Linked DNA regions of Homo sapiens: region 2 is linked to region 1. The links are contacts of gene promoters, found by promoter capture Hi-C in human tissues and cell types (Jung and others, 2019). All regions are on one chromosome and are shown on one strand. Each heading gives the region's core, a stretch centred on a gene start or on the middle of the fragment in contact. The rest is flanking DNA. Distances are from core to core; before and after follow the strand shown.

Evidence for each region. The method cuts DNA at HindIII sites, captures the fragments that hold promoters and counts their contacts. A contact is called where the count stands out against the background at its distance.
Region 2: a contact is called between a fragment that was not itself captured here and the fragment with the promoter of CA7 in region 1, in 2 of the 25 tissues and cell types used here (lymphoblastoid cells and spleen).

What each region holds. Positions count from the first base shown.
Region 1 is chr16:66,842,662-66,847,457 of GRCh38, reverse strand. CA7 (carbonic anhydrase 7) reads right to left here and starts at 3,044. Exons shown (of 7, transcript NM_005182.3): 1 at 2,931-3,044; 2 at 231-428. The coding sequence starts at 2,970. All of the region lies in intron 3 of LOC124903699 (a long non-coding RNA gene), which reads left to right. RefSeq lists an enhancer at 2,615-3,116. The HindIII fragment of the contact is 13,624 bases long and covers 1-4,796 here.
Region 2 is chr16:66,350,659-66,355,417 of GRCh38, reverse strand. No RefSeq gene overlaps it. Among named protein-coding and RNA genes, the nearest start is that of CDH5, 14 kb to the left of the region's middle. The HindIII fragment of the contact is 4,941 bases long and covers 951-4,759 here.

The sequences.
Region 1 (4,796 bases), core at 1,795-4,294:
TATCGACCTTACTTGGTTTTTTCATTTTTCCCCTCTATGACCTAAGAGGGTAGGTCTTATTGCTCTCACTTTATACATAAGGAGACTGAAGATCAGCCCAAGGCTTCACAGCTGGTGAGAGGAGGAACCTTTCTTACCCACCATAGCATGCTTCCTGAGACTGCCCAACACAAGGTTAGGACCCTAAGGGGCCAGGGGCCAGGTGCCAGGCTTTGGCAGGGGCCACTTACCGGTTCGGTCATCGCTGTCATTGAAGTCTACCTGGACAGAGTGGCCATTGTTGGTGATGCTGAGGGACATGCAGGCCTCATAGGAAAGCTCCAGTGGTTGCAGGCTGGGAGAGTACACAGCCTGGCTGGAGATGATATTGATGGGTGATTGGCGATCTCCCTGGGCAATGGGATACAGCTTGTGCCAATGCGAGGGGCCTGCAGGTGGGGAGGAGGGCAAGGACTCAGGCCAGCCAGGATCTCTGGGCTTCAGGCCGAGGACACCCATAGGGGAATGGTCTCTTCAGCATCCTTTCAGAGGTGAGCCCCTGCATTGGAGCTGCACAGCTTGGAGTTCCAATCCCAGCTTTGCCATTTCCCCTTTCAGCCTCCATTTCTTTGTCTGTGAAATGGTCTCACTAAAACTCACCTTCCAGTGCTGATAGGAGGCCCAGAGAGGTACTGTATGGAAGGGAACATAACAGCTACAGGCTCGGGGTGGCTCAGAGTAATAAGTCTCCCCAACAGGGAGACCTCCAGACATCTGAAGTCTCTGACCTGACCCCATCAGTATCTCACCTCTTTCTGTGCCTTGGGCAATTTGGTGTTGGTGTTTGTGATAAATAACAACAAAAACTCACATCAACCTAGCTTTGACTCTGTGACATGTATTTGCCTCTCACAACCACCTTGTGAAATAGAAACCAGCAAGATCCCCATTTCACAGATGAGGGAACTGAGGGCCACTCACACATGTGTGCATGCATATGTACTAATATAAATACAGCATGTGCATGCACTGCCCCCAGCTGCCCTCCCAATGTGTGTGCCTGCAAGTCCATAGAGATCTTCCTATGAACACATTAATCTTTCTATGATCTTCCATTGTGCACACAGAGCAGCCAGGCCCAGAACATTCATGTGTACAAACACACACACAGCCCTGCAGACTACATCTGACACACGCATATGCTCTCTCACACACAAACCCCTCTGTTGGAGACCCAAGTTTGCATAAAGGACCACAGCAAAACACATGCCCATGCACACACACACACACACACACACACACACCTGCATACACACCCACAGGCGCCCACCACCTGCCTCCCAGAGGATCCATCTGCAGCCGAGAGGCTCAGCATCTCCCTGGGGAACATCCTGAGATGCAGCCTATTTTTAGAGCTACTGCCGGCTGGTGCTTCTCCCCCTTTTTGGCTTCTTAAGTTTTCCTGAGAAAACAGCAGCAGGTGCCGACAGAGCCGTGTCCCCAATGGATGACTCAGAATCGTGGCCCGGCCCCTCTGGGTTATTTTTGAAGCCCTGTGAACACTGCTGCATGCCGGCACCTCTGTCCTCTGTCCTTCCCTTCCTCGACTGGACAATCCAGCTCTGCCTGGGTGATGGGGTGGCTGCTTTGGGGGAGCAGGCCCATGGAGCAGGCTACACAGGACACTGGGTGCTCAGAGCTGGTGGGCATGACTAGCAAGAAGAGCTGGAGGCAGGGGACTCTGGCTCTGGGGGAAGCACCCAAAAGGTGGCTCAGAGCAGGTGCTGGGAGAAGATGATCCCTATGGGTCCTGTCCATCTGCCCCATGTCTGCCTGTCTCTCCCTCTCTGCTTGTCTATATCATCTTTTTCTGAATGTCTCTTTCCAGCTCTTGCATACCCAGATCTGGGGGTTCTCTTCCAAAATATGCTCCTTTGTTCTTGGGGCCCCAGAGGGAGCCAAAGACTCCACAGCACCCTCCCTCTGGTCTACTGCAACTTTCTGGCTTCCCAGACTGTGGTCCCCCACCCAACCTCACAAAGTGACTGCCTCTCCGCAGAGGAGTGGGGCTGGGGGATGTTCCTCCCATCATTACTTTTTCTTCTCCGCACCCCACCTGTCTTGCACTGGCTCCCCAGGGAAATAGGGAACCCCTTACCCCACACCCCCACCCCTGCTTGGTAAGAAATGGCCCCAAAGGGAATTGACTGCCCCAGACCCACACTCCAGCCGTCTGGCTCTCACCTTCTGCCTCTTCTCCCTTTCTCTGAGTCCTAAGGAAACTGAGGCAGGATGAAGGAGCTCTCTTCCGCGTCAGCCCAGGAGGCTGGTGTGGGCCACGGGCTCCCACGACTCACACCCGGACGTGCGCAAACACCCTGCTCGGTGTAGACACCCAGACACATGCTTGCGCCCCCAAGTGCCCCCTTCCCTCACGTACCGGCCGAGAAGGCAGCTCGGCCACTTCTGCGGGGAAATTCTCTCCGGGGGACACTGCGCCCTTGCCACGCGGAGCCCCGCTCCCCCGAGGTCCCCGCTCACTTGCCGTGCGCGCTCCCCGCAGACACCCGCGCACAGCGCTCCGCGGCGCCCGCCCCCCGCTGCCCTGGGCCACCCCCACGCGCTGCGCACGCCCGGGGCGAGTGAGTGAGAGTCTGGGCCTGGGTCTGAGCGGGCTGGGCAATCAGGGGCTTCGCGGAGGAGGCGGCAGGACACAGCCGCCAGGTCGCTTGCTGGCGGCGGGGCCACCCGGGGCGCAGCGCGGACTTTGCGTCTGGCGCGGGGGACCAAGGCTTGGGCCAAGTTCGGGGGCCGGGATGGGAAGAGGGGTCCCGCCCAGCCTGGAGTGTGGGAGCTTTCCGGTCTGGGAAACCAGCTGGGCAAGAGGGTTGGGGCGAGTGCAGTTGGGTCGGGGGTCCGAGCCAGAGGCGGTGGGGGAGGTCTGTGCCTACCGTCGTCCTGGCCGTAGCCCCAGCCGTGGTGGCCGGTCATGCCGCTGCCGTCCCCGCAGCCGTGCACCTGCCCGGTCGGCTCGGTCCGCTCGTTCGGGCTGCGGCTCCGGCCCCGCTCGCTACCGCGGAGCAGCCTCTTAAAGCAGCGGCTGGCGGGAGGAGCAGTTCCCGGGGGACCCGCCCCCCACCCCCCAGCAGGGCCAGAGAGGCCGGCCTGCCCCGCCCTCGCCCGCCGGCGAGCCAGTTGAACCCCGAGCGGAGATTCAGGGCAGGAGGAAGTAACCCTCTCCCCCCAACTCCCACCCCTGCCCTGGCTGGGCGACTATCCCTCTTTTTCCCCCAGCAACCCGTGCGGACTCTGGGACACTAGATGCCCGTGCCGCACATGGCGTCCCTTCCCTAGGCTTGCCCCAGACCTGCAAATGCCACCACCAGAGACCTGAGCTCTGGGTCCTGAATCTTTTGGGGTTGGAAAGTCCCCTTTAAACTGCAAACTACACTGACCATCAAGTGTCCAAAACTGGAGCTTCCACTGTTTGCCAGAGGCTGTTGCAGGCGCTGGACCAAGCTTTGGGTCCTTCCTATGGTATAACCCTCTCTGTTACCCTACAAGGTTGGGTGCTTCCATCAGCCCTATCTGACAGAGGAGGGGAGTGAGGCCCAGAGAAGTGAAGTGACTTGCCCAAGGTCATCTAGCCAGGGGGTAAAGGGTTCATTAGCTGGGGTTCTTACTCCAGACACTGGGGGTTTTGTGGGATTTGTTTGTTTGTTTGTTTGTTTGCTTGTTTGTTTTTAGACAGAGTCTTGCTCTGTCACCCAGGCTGGTGCTATATCAGCTCACTGCAACCTCCACCTCCTTGATTCAAGTGATTCTTCTGCTTCAGCCTTCCAAGTAGCTGGGATTACAGGTGTGTGCCACCACATCCAGCTAATTTTTGTGTTTTTTGTAGAGATGGGGGTTTCACCATGTTGCCTGGGCTGGTCTTGAACTTCTGGCCTCAAGTAATCCACCCGCCTTGGCCTCCCAAAGTGTTGGGATTAGAGGAGTGAGCCACCACTCCTGGCCTGACACTGGGGTCTTTACCATTTCTCCTTGGTGCTGGGTACAAGGGTGTGCTGTGAGTGTGGGGGTCCGGGAACCCTGGGGTAGATGCAGGGACAGGAATGGCAATGTGAACCCTTGGCCCAGGTGGAACCAGATCCCCCAAGGGGGAGTGAGAAGGAGTGGCATCAACCAATGGGCCTGAAGACAGGCAGACACCAGGTGGCTTCCCCATGGAGCTAAGTCTGAGGCTCTGACTTCCACCCTCCCTGTTATTTTGTCTACTGCTTCCTCCTTTCTTCAGGGACTCTGCTTTGTCCCTCCATAGCCTGCTGTTTGTCCCTCCTCTCCTGACCTCCCCATAACCTTCAGTACACCCCCTGGGAGCTCAGACCCTCCACCCTGCACTCAACCCCAGTGCCTGCCTTGGCCCAGTATTTTCCCACCCACGAGCCCTGGTCGTTGTTGTGCCCTCCACCTGGTGCGTCCTCTGTCTTCCACCCACTGGCTCCAGCCGGCCCAATCTGATTCATCTTAGCACGTGGCCTTGTGCCAGGGAGAGGGCTTGTCTCTGGCTAGTCCTCAGCAGGCAGTTTTGGAAAGACAAACAGAGGGGTGGATGGAAGGACAGATAAATGATCCCACCCGGGGTCCTGTACTCAGCAGGAGTCGAACAGCCACTAGTACAATGTCTGCTGTCCAGATCTTGAATAGAGACACTCTTTCAGGCCCTGCTCTTGGCTGACCTTGTACAGGAATCTGCCATCTTGTCTGCCTGGCTCCCCTTCATCTCTGTGTCTGTCTCAGTTTCCCTCTCCCAGGCC
Region 2 (4,759 bases), core at 2,172-4,671, 490 kb after region 1:
AAAAAAAAAAAAGAAAAAGAAAAAGAAAAAAAAGTAGAATAGGAAGCCATGGAGGTAGTGAGCTCCCCATCCTTAGGGGATGTTCAAGTGTAGGCTGGAAAACACTGGCAGTGCTGTTGTGGTAAGGATCTCAGCAACAGATAGGGTCTAGAAAGAAATAATATTTAAGGTCCCTCTTCCCTCTGCAATTCTATAATTCTGCTCTAGCAATTTATTTCTTTAAAGTCAAGTTTATGATAAGGGAGGACTATATTTTTTCCACATGGAATGTATGCTTTATTTATAATACTTTGGGGTTTCTTCTATGACAAATATGCTCACTATATTTCTGAGTTCTAGGACTTGTGACAAATTTTACATGACCATTTAGGGTTTACATTTTCAGCTGATTATTAAGACATTTATAGTTTTTGCACATTTATATTTATGACATTGGGTTGGTCGTATTTATGATGTACTGGACGCCTAGCCATTGGTCAGGAAGCCTGGCTGAATATCTTAACATTGTTTCTGCGGGAAAACGTGTCTTGCTTTACGGTAATTCATTTTATGATGTGGATTCAGAAACTCAGTGAATTTACTCTGGGAGAAAAAACTCAACAGCTACGCAATTTGGGGAAGTCTCGTAGATTTAGAGGCAGATGACCTCGAGTTAGCTATGTGGCTTGGGTGAGTTTCTCAACACTTCTGTGCCTCAGTTTCTGTATTTAGTAATCTGAGCTAGGGAGTGGGAGGGAGGACACACATACCCTCCCCAACATTGCTGAGGTGGTGGTTTCTGTTTTGCTCTTACTGGGCACATGGGAGGGACTCAGCCCTGAACCTTCCCTCTCTCTTGTCCTCCTTGGATTTGCTGGTGGTACCTTGGGAACCATGTGCCTTGAAGGCTGCTTTCCCAGAGGGGCTCCAGCTTTTGGGAGGATTCTTAGGAATCCTTCCCAGGAATCTTGCCAGGCAGCATGTTTTCAGCACGTTAGAATTTTGCTCTGGGCTCCAAACTAAACTTGTTTCACCTTAAATAAAAGAAATCAATCCTCACAGCTGAGCTGTGCTACAACATTGATTTAGCATACATTTTGACATAGCCTGGCTAATAAATAAGCAGAAAGGCAATAAACATTAGGGAGAATTATCTGTTAGGGAATTGGGGTGGGCAGCTGGGGAATGGAGTGGTGGTGGTGAATTCCCCCCTGCCCTCCGCCTCCTTCTCTGCTTTCATCCTGAGACCCTCATCAATTGTGGGGTGAGCAGCAGCAGCAACAGCAGCAGCAGCAGAGATTCCAGTGGCGCTGCCTTGGCAGGTGGTGGATTTGGGGAAGTGGAGAGGGTCTGGCGGCCTCCCTCAGTGGGACTCTTGGTTCTCAGACCTGGCTGGCAGAGCGAGGAGACCTGCCTCTCTCTGGCCTTTGGTGCCCACCTGTGAATCCCAGCCCCTGAGCTGTGTGATCATGGGTATGTGAATTCACCTCTCTGCACCTTGGTTTTCTCACCTGGAAAACTGGGAACACTTTCGGCAGGCGCTGAGTGAGATGCAGGGACAATGTCATCCATAGTCAGCGTGTTAATACACGTCAGCCATGGCTGTCCCACCGTGGAGGTTAACGAAGAAGCTGTCTGCCAGATGTCCAGCACCTAGTAGGCACACTGTAAGCAGCCAGTGTTACTATTCTGGGAGGTGGGTTAATCAGCTTTTGGGGGCCCTGCCCTCAAGTCTTGGGTCCTTCCCCTTCCTCACCATGCTTGTGTCCTGCTGTGGCCCTGGGAACATCTATTGTCACTTTCCCAATTCCCAGGCTCAGAGTTCAGTTGACTTCTACTGGACGTACTCCCTCCCCAGCGCCCCCCGCCACTGTTGGCCTCTCTGGGCTCTGTGGGCACACTGGGGTCTCCAGCGTCTCTTCTTGCGTAATTGCATTTGATTTTCGTAGTGTGTTAGTGACTTAGTTATCGGTTAACAGGAACCTCAAATAAATAACTCTCTGCCCCATCTGCTTGCTGGTAGGTGATGAGGAAGAAACAAATGTGAATTTGAAAAGTGATACATTTCCCCCAACATGATTTCTGTCTCCGGTCATAAATGTCAGATAAATGAATCTGTTTTGTGAAGAATTAGCATATTGGTTCAGGGAAGCATCTGCTGGGCTGTGAATCACGAAGCCTTGGAACACTCCCTGGCTCTCCCCTGCTTGCTGCGCGGTGCCTGCAGGCGCTGCCTCCCTGCTTGAGTACTGGGAGCCTTGGCAGAAGGGAATGGGGCAACCTCTGCCATCCAGCACTTCCCCTCTCCACCAAACCCAGGCCCTCCCAGGTGCTGTGCCTGTTGGTGCAGATGACTTTGGTCCCCCAGTGTGACCTTCCCCAGAACCCTGACCACAGCCACCCACCCCACCCCTGGCTTCAGAACAAGGCAAGGTGAAGCTGGCATTTTAGCTCCATGGTTCCTGGCTGTGTGACGTTGGGTGAATTGCTTCCACTCTCTGAGCCTCAGTTTTCTCAGCTATAAAGGGGAATAGTAATGCCCAGGACCAATGTATGCATTTTAGGCACAGGAAACACAGTTCCTAGGACCCAAGCTACTTTTAAGGGATGCGGTTGGCAGAATAATGGCCCGTGAAGAGGTCCGCATCTCAATCTCTGGAAACTGACAATGTTATGCCACATGGCAAATGGGAATGAAGGCTGTATGTGGAATTAAGGTTGCTGATTAGATGAGCTTAAATAGAGAGATTTTCCTGGGATGCCCAAAGTGATTACAAGGGTCCTAGAATGTGGAAGAGGGAGACGGAGACTGAGTATCACAGTAATGTCAGAATGTAATGTAATGTAAGTAATGTGTAAGAAGAGGGAGGTAAGAATGTGTGTAATGTAAAGAGGGAGGTAAGAATGTGTGTAATGTAAAGAGGGAGGTAAGAATGTGTGTAATGTAAGTAATGTGTAGGAAGAGGGAGGAAAGGTCCACAAGCCAAGGAATGTGGCAGGAAAAGGCAAGGAAGTGGATTCTCCCATAGAGCATCCTGAAAGGCATGCAGCCCTGCCAACACCTTGGTTTTAGCCTAGGGACACCCATTGCGGACTTCTCACCTCCAGAATTATGAAGTCATACATCTGCATTGTTTTAAGCCACTAAATTTATGGTAGCTTGTCATAGCAGCAAGAAGAAACTAATACAGGCTGGGTGCAGTGGCAAACAGCAGGACCTTGGGAGCCTGAGGCAGTAGGATCACTTGAGGCCAGGTCCAGCATGGGCAACATAGTGAGACCCCCATCTCTAAAAAAGCTTTAAACAATTAGCCCAACAGGATGGCATGTGCCTGTAGTCCCAGCTACTAGATAGGCTGAGGCAGGAGGATCACTTGAGCCCAGGAGTTCGAGGTTACAGTGAGCTATGATTGTGTCACTGCACTCCAGCCTGGGCAACATTGCGAGACTCTGTCTCTAAAAAACAAAAATATAAATAAAAACTGAAAAAAAAAAAAAGTGAATACAGGGACATACAAAAATATTCTAATTTATTTTAAAATCAGAAGAAAAAAATAAATATAAGCCAGGCTTAGTTGTATATGGGTTTATACCAAAAAGCATAAAGTATAATCTTTATTTTTTAATTTAATTTAATATTTTTGAGATGGAGTCTCTCTTTGTCTCCCACGCTGGAGTGCAGTGGTGTGGTCTCAGCTCGCTGCAACCTCCGCCTCCCAGGTTCAAGTGAGTCTCCTGCCTCAGCCTCCCCAGTAGATGGGATTATAGGTGCATGCTATCATGCCAAGCTAAGTTTTGTCTTTTTAGTAGAGATGGGTTTCACCATGTTAGCCAGGCTGGTCTTGAACTCCTGACCTCAAGTGATCCACCTGCCTGGGCTTCCTAAAGTGCTGGGATTACTGGTGTGAGCTACTGCGCTCAGCAGATAAAGTATAATCTTTGTTTTAGGGAGGAAGGGGCCCACGAAGGCAAAAGTGCCGAGGGCTCATGGTCCATGCAGCCATCATGCATCTTGCCTTGCAACCCGCAATGGGCTTAAAGGAGAGGGTGTTGGCAAGGCACCTGCTAGGATGCACGGATCACACACCAGGAGTCAGAAATGGGGGCAGCTGTTGTTTTGTGTTGTGGTCAGTTTCCCTTCCAAGTACTAAGGCTCCCCGTTGGGGGAATGCCTTGACCTAAAGCTTTGCACCCCACTGCTGGGACCCTTTATCTCCTGGCAGGACCTAACTGACCCAAAGGTCAGGTGGAGGGCCAACCCTGGCTTGCTGTGTGCCTACTGGGGGGGCCTTCCTCCTGGTCCCCCTTGCCTGCATCCATTGCTGAGTGTCCCACAATAACACAATTGGCTGAGCACCTACTCTGTTCTTGGACTGGAGGGTGGGAGCCTGAAATCTCATCCAGTGCTCCCTCTGGAATAGTAGCATCTTTGATTTTTCAAAGCCACACAGTGAGGCAGATACTGATCCACCATCCCACCAGAGTCTGTGTGACTCCATCCCACTCAGCAGGGCTCCTCTGTCTCCTGATGGCGAGAGTCACCTAGGAACTTGTAAAAACCACAGTGCTGCAGCCCCAGCCAGCCCCGCTGAACCTGAACCTCCTGGGAGGGGCCGCGAGGCTGCCATATGGTTACCAGGGCTCCAGGTGAGTTCTGTCCTCAGTAGGGAAGACCCTACTGCACCCTACTGCACAGGGTGCATGCTCACTTGCAACAAGGGAAGGGGACAAACAGAGAGCATGAACATGTGAACTTGGTATGTTCTATGTGCCAGGTGTG